4 separate regions of the Homo sapiens genome follow, and regions 1, 3 and 4 are each linked to region 2. Evidence: promoter capture Hi-C in 16 types of primary human blood cells and fetal thymus (Javierre and others, 2016). All regions are on one chromosome and are shown on one strand. The core of a region is centred on a gene start or on the middle of the fragment in contact, and the rest is flanking DNA. Distances in the headings are between cores, read along the strand shown. Region 1 overlaps ACTR10 (actin related protein 10). Region 2 holds the start of TOMM20L (translocase of outer mitochondrial membrane 20 like). Region 3 overlaps ARMH4 (armadillo like helical domain containing 4). Region 4 overlaps PSMA3 (proteasome 20S subunit alpha 3).

Evidence for each region. Contacts are between HindIII fragments. The CHiCAGO score rates a contact against its expected background, and 5 or more counts as called.
Region 1: a fragment that was not itself captured here is called in contact with the fragment with the promoter of TOMM20L in region 2 in 4 of 17 cell types (naive CD8 T cells, total CD4 T cells, total CD8 T cells and 1 more); the score reaches 6.3 in naive CD8 T cells.
Region 3: a contact is called between a fragment that was not itself captured here and the fragment with the promoter of TOMM20L in region 2, in 1 of 17 cell types (naive CD8 T cells). The highest score is 6.4, in naive CD8 T cells.
Region 4: a contact is called between a fragment that was not itself captured here and the fragment with the promoter of TOMM20L in region 2, in 1 of 17 cell types (erythroblasts). The highest score is 5.1, in erythroblasts.

Annotation. Positions count from the first base shown.
Region 1 is chr14:58,201,683-58,204,382 of GRCh38, reverse strand. ACTR10 (actin related protein 10) reads right to left here. Exons shown (of 13, transcript NM_018477.3): 2 at 1,456-1,528. Among named protein-coding and RNA genes, the nearest start is that of ACTR10, 2.9 kb to the right of the region's middle. The HindIII fragment of the contact is 1,894 bases long and covers 433-2,326 here.
Region 2 is chr14:58,394,639-58,397,500 of GRCh38, reverse strand. It overlaps TOMM20L (translocase of outer mitochondrial membrane 20 like), which reads right to left and starts at 1,571. Exons shown (of 5, transcript NM_207377.3): 1 at 1,408-1,571; 2 at 1,160-1,203. The coding sequence starts at 1,543. It overlaps TOMM20L-DT (TOMM20L divergent transcript), which reads left to right and starts at 1,796. Exons shown (of 2, transcript NR_187161.1): 1 at 1,796-2,200. RefSeq lists silencers at 1,124-1,173, 1,244-1,763. The HindIII fragment of the contact is 7,740 bases long and covers 1-2,862 here.
Region 3 is chr14:58,142,772-58,145,636 of GRCh38, reverse strand. The region is part of intron 1 of ARMH4 (armadillo like helical domain containing 4); the gene reads left to right. Among named protein-coding and RNA genes, the nearest start is that of ARMH4, 8.0 kb to the left of the region's middle. The HindIII fragment of the contact is 3,451 bases long and covers 1-2,865 here.
Region 4 is chr14:58,259,970-58,262,781 of GRCh38, reverse strand. It overlaps PSMA3 (proteasome 20S subunit alpha 3), which reads right to left. Exons shown (of 11, transcript NM_002788.4): 6 at 1,762-1,834. Among named protein-coding and RNA genes, the nearest start is that of PSMA3, 17 kb to the right of the region's middle. The HindIII fragment of the contact is 4,600 bases long and covers 1-2,812 here.

The sequences.
Region 1 (2,700 bases), core at 130-2,629, 190 kb after region 2:
AGATGGAGTCTCGCTCTGTCGCCCAGGCTGGAGTGCAGTGGCGCAATCTCGGCTCACTGCAAGCTTCGCCTCCCGAGTTCACGCCATTCTCCTGCCTCAGCCTCCCAAGTAGCTGGGAATACCAGTGCCTGCCACCATGCCTGGCTAATTTTTTTTTTTTTTTTTAGTAGAGATGGGTTTTCACTGTGTTAGCCAGGATGGTCTCGATCTCCTGACCTCGTGATCTGCCCGCCTCGGCCTCCCAAAGTGCTGCGATTACAGGCGTGTAATCTGCCCAGCCCACAATTTTATTTTTAATATTCCCTAAGACAGCCTCCAGCCACACTCAGCTGCCTGCCAATCCTATTTAAATTTTGTGGAGGCATCAATTATTGTTTTTGCTAGTCCTCTGATTACAAAGTTACACAGGTTTTATATGGACTACCTCAAGCTTATTTTTCCCATAAGCCTGTTTTGTTTTGTTTTTTAAAAATGTACCATTTTGCAGAACAAAGGTATTTTCTGGAATGCATATATAATGTTACTGTGGTAACAGCTACATCTCATTTTTTAACAAGTGAATTTTATAACATGCAAAATCATTCTTTCTACTGGTTGTAATTTCTAATCTGCCAAATTAGCTGTGGCAAGAAACTTTTTGAAAGTTTGTTTTCAAAATTCTCTGGGTTTTGAAACTGTAAATAAGGGAATAAATATCTGATATATTATAAATAATAAAATAATTCAGTGGTTATAAGACTTATAAAAGTATTTTACTGAAGTTAAAATTTTTCTCTTGATATATGATTCCATTTACATAAAATGTACAGAAAAGACAAATCTATAGAAACAGAAGGTACACCCTAATGGGCTGAGGATAGGAATGAGGATTAATTGTAAACGGGTATTAGGGATTTTACTGGGGTGATGAAAACATTCTAAAACTGGATTGTGGTGGTACTTGTACAACATGATATACTTATGGTGTGCAAAATTAGACCTTGATAAAGTTGATTTAAAAAGAAAAACTTTTCCTTGGAAATATAGCCACAAAGTATATATTTAGTACTGTTTCTTGTTTCTTTTTTTTTTTTTTTTTTTGAGACGAAGTCTTGCTCTTGCCCCCCAGGCTGGAGTGCGATGGCTTGATTTTGGCTCACTGCAACCTCCGCCTCCCGGGTTCAAGCAATTCTCCTGCCTCGGCCCCCTGAGGAGCTGGGATTAGAGGTGCCTGCCACCACTCCCGGCTAATTTTTGTATTTTTAGTTGAGACAGGGTTTCACCATGTTGTCCAGGCTGGTCTCAAACTCCTGATCTCAGGTGATCCACCCGCCTCAGCCACCCAAAGTGTTGGGATTACAGGCGTGAGCCACCACGGCTGGCCTTTAGTACTGTTTTAATCAATCTTACTTGAAGTCATATTTTAAAACATTTTATAGTATGGCATTTATTTTGCTAATATTTTTTTTTAAATACCTTAGGCATCCCAGCTCTTTTTATCACACTAGGAATTATACATCTTGGACCAGTTTCTCCAGCAAATCCACACCTGCAAATAAATGGAAAATTGAAACAACTTATAGTATTCTTTTAAATATTTGTCACAGAAACTAATTTTCTCTGTATTTGTTTCAAAACAATGGCCACAATAACATTTGAAAATACCTGATGTATTTTAAGGGATCAAAAAAAATCACTCCACAAAACTAATAATACTATTTATTAATGCTTGTGTATTAACAGAAAAAAATTCTATGAAATTCGTGATGCTGAAAAAAACAAATGTATTATTTTAGGGCAGCATTTACTTTTTTTTTTTTGAGATGGAGTCTGGCTCTGTCACCCAGGCTGGAGTGCAGTGGCGCGATCTCGGCTCACTGCAAGCTCCGCCTCCCGGGTTCACGCCATTCTCCTGCCTCAGGCTCCTGAGTAGCTGGGACTACAGGTGCCGGCCACCACGCAGGGCTAATTTTTTTTTTTTTTTTTAGTAGAGACGAGGTTTCACCGTGTTAGCCAGGATAGTCTCGATCTCCTGACCTCGTGACCCGCCCGCGTCGGCCTCCCAAAGTGCTGGTATTACAGGCGTGGGCCACCGCGCCTGGCCAACTTTTTTCCTAGTTGTTAATTTTAGCAGAATTTAGGCAAGACATATCTACAACTCTGAATCTGTACTACATTATGTGACTTCATTCATATAATTCATCTGTATCACTCATAATTCCATCATTCTAATATTGTTAGCTTCCATATTGGTGTATTCACTTTCAGTCTACTTCTTATGATTATGCATATATATTTGACATAGTTTTAATCACACTTCATACATAATTAACTCATACAGTAAGCTTCTGCCCATATTAACATAATCTTCATTGCTATCACTTTTTTTTTTTTTTTTTTTGAGGCAGGGTCTCGCTCTGTCGCCCAGGCTGGAGTGCAGTGGCACAAACTCAGATCACTGCAGCCTCCGCTTCCCAGGCTCAAGCGATCCTCCCCCCTTGGCCTCCCAAAGTGCTAGGATTTCGGGCACGACACTACCGCCGGCTAAATTTTGTATTTTGTGTAGAGCTGGGTTTCCCCATGTTGCCCAGGCTGGTCTTGAACTACTGGGCTCAAGTGGTCAGCCCGCCTCAGCTTTCCAAACTGCTGGAATTACAGTATTATTTTTAAAACCACATATTTCATTATTTTAAAAACGATGCTCTTTTCTTGAGTATTTAG
Region 2 (2,862 bases), core at 322-2,821:
AAACTGCATGTTTCAAAAATGGCTACCGCAATATTCCCGGTCACACAAGTGCTTTCAAAACCTTGCCATCCCTGTTGAGAGGTAGAATCTATTTCCTCTCCCTTTAAATTGAGTAGGCTTCAATGTTGCCAGAAGTGGTACCATCTGCTCTTCCACATGGGCACATGTTCTAGTTCACATGCATGTGCGTGCTCTCTCTATACACAGACACACACACACACACATATATATACACACATACATATATGTGTTTGCTTGTCCCTTGGGACACAGCCCATCACACAAATGAAGAATCCCAGATCACACAGACGTGTAGGTGCTCTGGCTAACAATCTCAGCTAAGTAAACATCCAGCATCAACTGCGGATTGCTTGTGGCCAGGAGTTCTAGTTCAGCCTGGGCAACATAGGAACACCCTTGTCTCTTTCTTTTTTTATAGACAGTGTCTTGCTCTGTCGCCCAGGCTGCAACTGCCACCTCCCGGACTCAAGCAATTCTCCTGCCTCAGTCTCCCAAGTAGCTGAGACTACAGGCACACGCCACCACTCCCGGCTAATTTTTGTATTTTTAGTAGAGACAGGCTTTCACCATGTTGGCCAGGCTGGTCTCAAACTCCTGACCTCACGTGATCTGCCCGCCTTGCCTCCCAAAGTGCTGGGATTACAGGCGTGAGCCACCAAGCCCGGCCCGCCTCTTAAAAACAACAAAAAAGGGACTAATCAAATTTTGCCGCAGAGATTTACAAAACACGAAGATGCCTTCTGCTTCTGAGCTACAAGAAAGGCCCTGCGGGAGAACAATCTAGAAGTTACTGCCATGTGACCGTGGCCAGCCTGGGTTTTTAAGTGTCCTGTGCGGCTCTGACAGGGCAAAAGGCTCCTCTTCCTTCTTCCAGTTAAAAGAAGTGCCTGTTGTACAGTGTTTTGCTTTGCAGCTGCCTTTTTATAACTCCAACTTCTTCCTCCTTCCTTCCCTCCCTTTTGTGAGAGGAGAGTGACTGGGCCTGAGGCGGTGCGTGGCGCGCGAGGGCAGGCCTCTTCCCGGGCACGGGCGGCTGAGGGAACTAACTACCTGCTGCCGAGCCCGCCAGGAGCCAAGCAACCCAGCGAGCCCGGACCTGCGTCTACTGAGCTACCTGTGCGGATCGAAAGCACTGCACCTGCGTGCCCTGCTCCTCAGCCTTTTGAGGCTCTGCTCTTCTTTCTGCGAACACAACACGGCACATGCTGGCTGGGAGGCCCGTCCAGAGGCACGCGTGGGCCCAGTGGTCCTGCCTGCCCGGGCGCCGCGGGCCCCTCGGCAGAGGCTGAGGCACTCACGGCCCGGCCTCTCAGTGGGGGGCCCTCCCGGCCGGCAGCCCGCCCGCGCTGCCCGGCCCGGCCGCGCCTCCGCCTCGGTCCCACTCACTGTCCCGCAGGCGGCGCTTGAACGCGGGGTCCCCGCGCCGCTTCCGGTTGAGGTAAATACAATAGCCCAGGAAGGCGAAGGCGCCACAGGCCGCCGCGGCGGCCAAGAGGCGGAGGAGGGAGCGGACGGAGGGCATCCGACCGCGGGCGTCCCACAAGCCGAGCGTTGGGCGCGGGCCGGCCGGCAGGGGGCGTCGGCGCGGCGGCCCATCCGGCCTCGGGGCCTCCTGCGCACCCAGCTGCGCGTTGACGCCTCGCACCCAGGCTTGCGGACCGATGAGGAAGCCGAGCGTTCGAGAGGGTGTGTGCGGGAGCCCTCACAGCCACAGAGTAGCAGAGCTCTGTTCGAACCTACGTCTGTCGCACTCCAAATTCTGAACCCTTTCTCCAAACACGCCTCTGCCCCTGTGTCTACAACACCCATTCAGGCAAAGCACAGTATGCTGCGAATCTGCTTTACTGGGAGCCAGTGGTCGTTTAGGTCTCTGTTCCCTCACCTGCAAAATTAAGTTGACTCTAAGGTCAACTTTGGTCACCTCCTAGTTCACATTGTCTAACAGTAGCCCGTACTCCCCAATCTGGTATCCTTTGTCTCCTGAAAGGACCCAGCAGTCCAAGGTCCAAGGGAGGAATTCAGAAGCAACACTGTTTAATCTAGAAAAATACGTTAAATTGCTGGGCTGAGACTGACAGTCAAAGGTCCCAAAGCAAAAACAACTGAGAGTCCCATGATACTGGCCTAGCTGCTTTTCTAATATTTGCCTTACTCAGCGGACACAGCAGAAAGAAAGAAGGTAAGACTTTGTCCTAAATACCAGAGTTCTGACTTTTCTACTAAGGAGGAGAAAAGGCATAAGCTAGGGACCTAAAGAACTAGATAATTCATTTTTATTTAGGTTATACAATTGCTATTTACTGATTTACAATTTACTGTTATTACTAGTGTGTGCATAGCAAGGTGCTCATCACTGCTCTGAATACCAGTGGGTCTAGCTAGGTGCAGTGGCTCACAACTGAAATCCCAACACTTTGGGAGGCTGAGGTGGGAGGATCACTTGAGCTCAGGACTTGGAGACCAACCAGCCTGGGCAACATTGCAAGAACCCATCTCTAAAAAAACAAAACAAGGGCCGGGCACAATGGCTCATGCCTGTAATCCCAGCACTTTGGGAGGCCGAGGCAGGCAGATCACAAGGTCAAGAGTTCGAGACCAGCCTGGCCAACATGGTGAAACACTGTCTCTACTAAGAATACAAAAATTAGCTGGGTGTGGTGGCATGTGCCTGTAATCCGTTACTTGGGAGGCTGAGACAGGAGAACTGCTTGAATCCGGGAGGCGGAGGTTGCAGTGAGCTGAGATTGTGTCACTGTACTCCAGCATGGGCAACAGAGCAAGACTCCGTCTCGATAAAACAAAACAAAAAAATACTGGTCGTGGTGTGCACCTGTAGCCCTA
Region 3 (2,865 bases), core at 344-2,843, 250 kb after region 2:
ATTCCCTTCACGCAAAAATTCTAAAACCCAAGATACAGATGAAAATAAACTTGGAAGGAAAATTATGTTTTGGAAAGGCAGTGGGGCTGTATTAAGTCTTTATTATTTATCCCTTCTTCCCTTGATCTGATTTGTTTGTAAAATTTTTCTCTCAGTCCACATGACTCCAGAACATACACATAGCACATAAAGCATCTGCTCCACCATTTGAGTGCCTTTCCTAGTTGATGGCAACATTATAGGAATATAGAAATATTTGTATTTTTATTTCATGTCATATAGGTGAGGTATGAGAATAAAATCATGGATGAAGAAGGGATTTGAATGATTATTTTAATTCCTCATTTTGTCAAAGGAGAAACTGAGGCCACTTGCTCAGTATCATATAGCAAGTTTCAATGTCAATAAAGCTAAGATTCAGGAATCATTTTTCTGATGCCAGCCCAAGTCCCTCTAAACTCTATTACCATTCATGATGGCCTGGGGCTTTCAGATTTTTATTCAGAAGTATGGGATCATGTGGGCCAAGGTTTTAGGCCACACGTTTAGTAAGATTTCACTGAATAGAAAAAGTATTTGTTTAGGAAGGGGCAGCTATCTGAACAGATCAGAAATGAACCACAGAGTTCTATAGCTTTTATGACTGTTCGACTATATAGATAGAATTTAGTAGGTCAGTTTGTCTGAACAGAAATCCGAAGGTGTAATTTCATTGACTGTCAATTCTCTTGTTTCACAGCTATCATATTTTTTTTGTTTGTTTTTTTTTGAGATGGAGTCTTGTTCTGCCACCCAGGCTGGAGTGCAGTGGTGCGATCTTGGCTCACGGCAAGCTCGGCCTCCTGGGTTCACGCCATTCTCCTGCCTCAGCCTCCCGAGTAGCTGGGACTACAGGCGCCCGCCACCATGCCCGGCTAATTTTTTTGTATTTTTAGTGGAGACGGGGTTTCACCGTGTTAGCCAGGATGGTCTCAATCTCCTGGCCTCGTGATCCACCCGCCTTGGCCTCCCAAAGTGCTGGGATTTCAGGCGTGAGCCACTGCGCCAGGCCTCATATGTTTTGTTGTTGTTGTTGTTGTCTGTTTGTTTTTGAGACAGGGTCTTTTCTCTGTCGCCCAGAATGGAGTGTAGTGGTATGATCACGGCTCACTGCAGCCTTGACTTTCTGGGCTCAAGTGATTCTCCCACCTCAGCCTCCTGAGTAACTAGGACTACTGGTGTGTGCCTGGCTCATTTTGTAGAGATGAGATTTGCCATGTTGCTCAGGCTGGTCTCAAACTCCTGGGCTCAGATGATCCTCCTGCCTTGGCCTCTCAAAGTATTGGGACTACAGGTATGAGCCACTGCACCTGGCCCCTTCATTACGTTTTTGTTTTAAGGAAGGCAAATAGAGGCATCAAGCCAAATTCAGTGATCTGTTACCTGGCTATGAACTAGAGTGCATCCTGGCTCATCTAAAGTACAGTGATAACTAATGTCCAGAATGTTGACATGCTGTGGCACATGCTATTTCCTCTTTATCAAATATCTTTGCCATTTTCTCTTTTTTAAAAAGAACAGTGTGGCCAGGTGTGGTGGCTCACACCTGTAATCCCAGCACTTTGGGAAGCTGAGGTGGGTGGATCGCTTGAGGTCAGGAGTTCTAGATCAGCCTGGCCAACATGGTTAAACCCTGTCCATACTAAAAATACAAAAATTAGCTGGGTGTGATGGTGGGCACCTGTAATCCCAGCTACTTAGGAAATTGAGGCAGGAGAATCACTTCAACCTGGAAGGTGGAGGGAGCAGTGAGCTGAGATCACACCATCAAACTCCGACCTGGGTGACAGAGCAAGACTCTGTCTCAGAAAAAAAAAAAAAAAAAAAAAAAAGAGGATGGGCACGGTGGCTCATGCCTGTAATCCTAGCACTCTGGGAGGTTGAGGTGGGTGGATCACTTGGGGTCAGAAGTTCGAGACCAACCTGGCCAGCATGGTGAAACCCTGTCTCTATTAAAAATACAAAAACTAGCCAGGCATGGTAGTGAGCACCTGTAATCCCACCTATTTGGGAGGCTGAGGCAGGAGAATCACTTGAACCTGGGTGACAGAGGTTGCAGCGAGCCGAGATGGCATCAGTGCACTCCAGCCTGGGCAACAGAGTGAGACTCCATCTCAAAAATAAACATACAAATAAACAAAAACAATGCTAGCTACCAGCATGTAATTTAATATTCAGATATGTTTGTTTCAAACCCCCATCAGCATATGGGGAAACTTAGCACCCGTCTCATTATCCTTGCAGATTGTTTGGGGACTTATGTTTCTTCTAGTCATCTCTGGCTTCAGTTTTCTTCAGCTAAATTTGTAATCCCTGATAGGCTGTTTCTTTTCTGCACATGACACTATTGTACTCGTGCTGTCATTCCATTCCTGTATTTCCCTGCAGCATTGTGGACTCAAGATTTCTGTGTAACAAATTACCCCGTAGCTTAGTGGCTTGAAATAACAATAAATATTTGTTATTTTATACCAGTTCTATGCATCATGAATTTGGGAGTAACTTAGCTGTGTGGTTATGGCACAAAGTCTTTCAAGAAGGTGTAGTCAAGATGTCAGCCAGGGGTGCAGTCATCTGAAGGGTTGACTGGGGCTGCTGGACCCATTTCCAAGATGGTACACTCATGTGGTGGTGGTAGTTGGCAGGAAGCCTTAGCTCTAAATCCATGGATTCCTTTTTTCTCACGTAGAAAAAGTCAGTCTTCTTGTGCTGTGTGGTGGTATGTGCCTGTAGTCCTACCTACTTAGGAGCTTGATGCAGGAGGATTGCTTGAGCCCAGGAGTTCAAGTCCAGCCTGGGGAAAGAAAAAAAGAGAAGAAAGGGAAA
Region 4 (2,812 bases), core at 70-2,569, 130 kb after region 2:
AGACCAGCCTGGGCAACATGGTGAAAGTCTGTCTCTACTAAAAATACAAAAATTAGCCAGGTGTGATGGTACAGGCCTGTAATCCCAGCTACTTGAGAGGCTGAGGCACAAGAATCCCTTGAATCCGGGAGGCAGAGGTTACAGTGAGCCAAGATTGCACCACTGCAGTCCAGCCTGGGCAACTGAGCAAGACTCTGTCTCAAAAAAAAAAAAAAATGGTAATAATTTAGGGAAAGCTCTTAGAAATCACATTTAAACCTTCTCTTTAAAAGGGAAGGCAGGGCAAGGTGGCTCACACCTATAATCCCAGCATTTTGGGAGACCAAGGTGGGCGGATTACTTGAGATCAGGAGTTCGAGACCAGCCTGGCTAACATGGTGAAACCTCGTCTCTACTGAAAATACAAAAATTAGCCGGGTGTGGTGATGCATGCTTCTAATCCCAGCCTACTCGGGAGGCTGAGGCAGAATTGCTTGAACTGGGGAGGTGGAGGTTTGGCGCCACTGCACTCCAGTCTGGGTGACAGAGCGAGACGCTGTCTGAAACAAAATTAGGTCCGGCACTGTGGCTCACGCCTGTAATCCTTGCACTTTGGCAGGCCGGGGTGGGCAGACCACCTGAGGTCAGGAGTTGGAGACCAGCTGGCCAACATGGCAAAACCCCATCTGTACTAAAAATACAAAAATTAACCAGGCATGGTAGTACATGCCTGTAATCCCAGCTAATCAGGAGGCTGAGACAGGAGAATTGCTTGAACCTAGGAGGCGGAAGAGGTTGCAGTGAACCAAGATCGAGCCACTGCACTCCAGCCTGGGAGACAGAGTGACACTCCATCTTATAAATAAATAAAATAAAAGGGATGACATGGCTGGACATCGATGCTCACGCCTGTAGTCCCAGCATTTTGGGAGTCCAAGGCAGGAGGACTGCTTAAGGCCAGGAGTTTGAGACCAGCCCTGGGAACGTGGAAAGACCTTGTCTCTATAGACACCAAAAAAATACAAAAATTAGCTAGGCATGGTGGCATGAGCCTGTAGTCCCAGCTACTTGGGAGGCTTAGGTAGGAGGATCGCCTGAGCCCAGGAGTTGAGAGGCTGAAGTGAGCTATGATTGTGTCACTGCACTCCAGCCTGGGCAAGAATGAGGAAAAAAGACATTAAATACAGTTTTAAGACAGTGTTTATAGTAATAAAGGAAAATCACATATTCAAAATACTATATGCACTATACAGTTTCTATAAATAACATACTGAAAAAAAATCTTTCCTCTGCCTCGTATCAGTTATTAATGATAAGAAAACATGGCTGGGCCTGGTGGCTCACACCTGTAATACTCGCACTTTGGGAGACCCAGGTGGGTAGATCTCTTGAGGACTGGAATTCAAGACCAGTCTGGCCAACATGGCAAAGGCCTGTTTCTACTAAAAATAAAAAAAATTAGCCAGGTGGTGCACACCTGTAATCCCAGCTACCCGGGAGGCTGAGGCAGAAGAACTGTTTGAACCTGGGAGGCAGAGGTTGCAGTGAGCTGTGATCACACCACTGTGCTCCAGCCTGGGCCACAGTGAGACCCTGTTCCCCCAAAAAGGAAAAAAAAAAAAATTCTGTTGGACAAGAGGTTGTTGTAAAAAAAAAAAAAAGAAAAATTACTTTCCTTGAATGAGTTTTTTTTTAATTTCATATAATCTTATAATGAGACTTAAATGCTAATGAAATACCATTAAACTAAAATAGAATTTCAAATGATTCAAAATTACTCACGTATGAAACACCTGATGGGTCAATCATGTAGAGTTGCGCACCGTCATTCACACTGTAAGACCCTAACATGAAACTGCATGAAAGTATACAAACAGCTTAAACCATGGCAATAACATAAAAGTATTTGTGAAAAAATTATTTTAAAATGCAGTTATATTTTCTTTCTGAGATAAATTACTAATACACATATAACTCAGTAAGTACTTTGAAACAGTGGTTTCAATTAATTAAAACTATTACATGAGATTATTCAAAATTCATGTAGCTTTTGTTTGTTTAGTATTAATCTTTCTGATGAAGGTCTCCTGGAAAGTCTAGCAGTACAGGGAAAGGAGTAACGATAGATGAAAACCACAACTATGAGAGGGCCCAATAAATAAGGCATAAACACAAAAAGATCAAGGGAACAAAATTCCTGACGGAGAGTATACTGAATCCATGTGAAATTCTTTCCACCCTTCATTCTATTTCCCAATATCCTGCCAATCATTTCTCTGCAATAATCAGAATTGGTTCAGTGTATTTTTCTGTGCTCAACAAATTAGGCTATTAGCTGATTGTATGAAATACTGATTTTCTGAAATTGTGACATACAGTGGGCACTGTTTCCATGAGTTCTGCATCTGTGGATTCAACAAACCACAGATAGAAAACTTTCAAAAAACATTGCTTCTGTACTGAACAACTGTGATTTTCTTGTCATTATTCCCTAAACAATACAGTGTAACAGCTATTTACACTGTGTTAGGTATTGCAAGTAATCTAGAGATGACAACATACAGGAGGATATGCACAGGTTATATGCAAATACTTAACCATTTTATATCAGGGACTTCAGCAACCTTGGATTTTGGTATTCATGGGAGGTCCTAAAACCAATCCCCCACAAATACCAAGGGACAACTATATTTGCCTTAGAGTAGAAAAGAAATCAGCAGCATCTTACACATCATCTTATATGCGGAATATTTTAACTATTCAATTCCCATCCCTACCGTCATTTCCTTCCATTTTCTACCGATATGAGACTTATCCTTCAGGATATATAGCT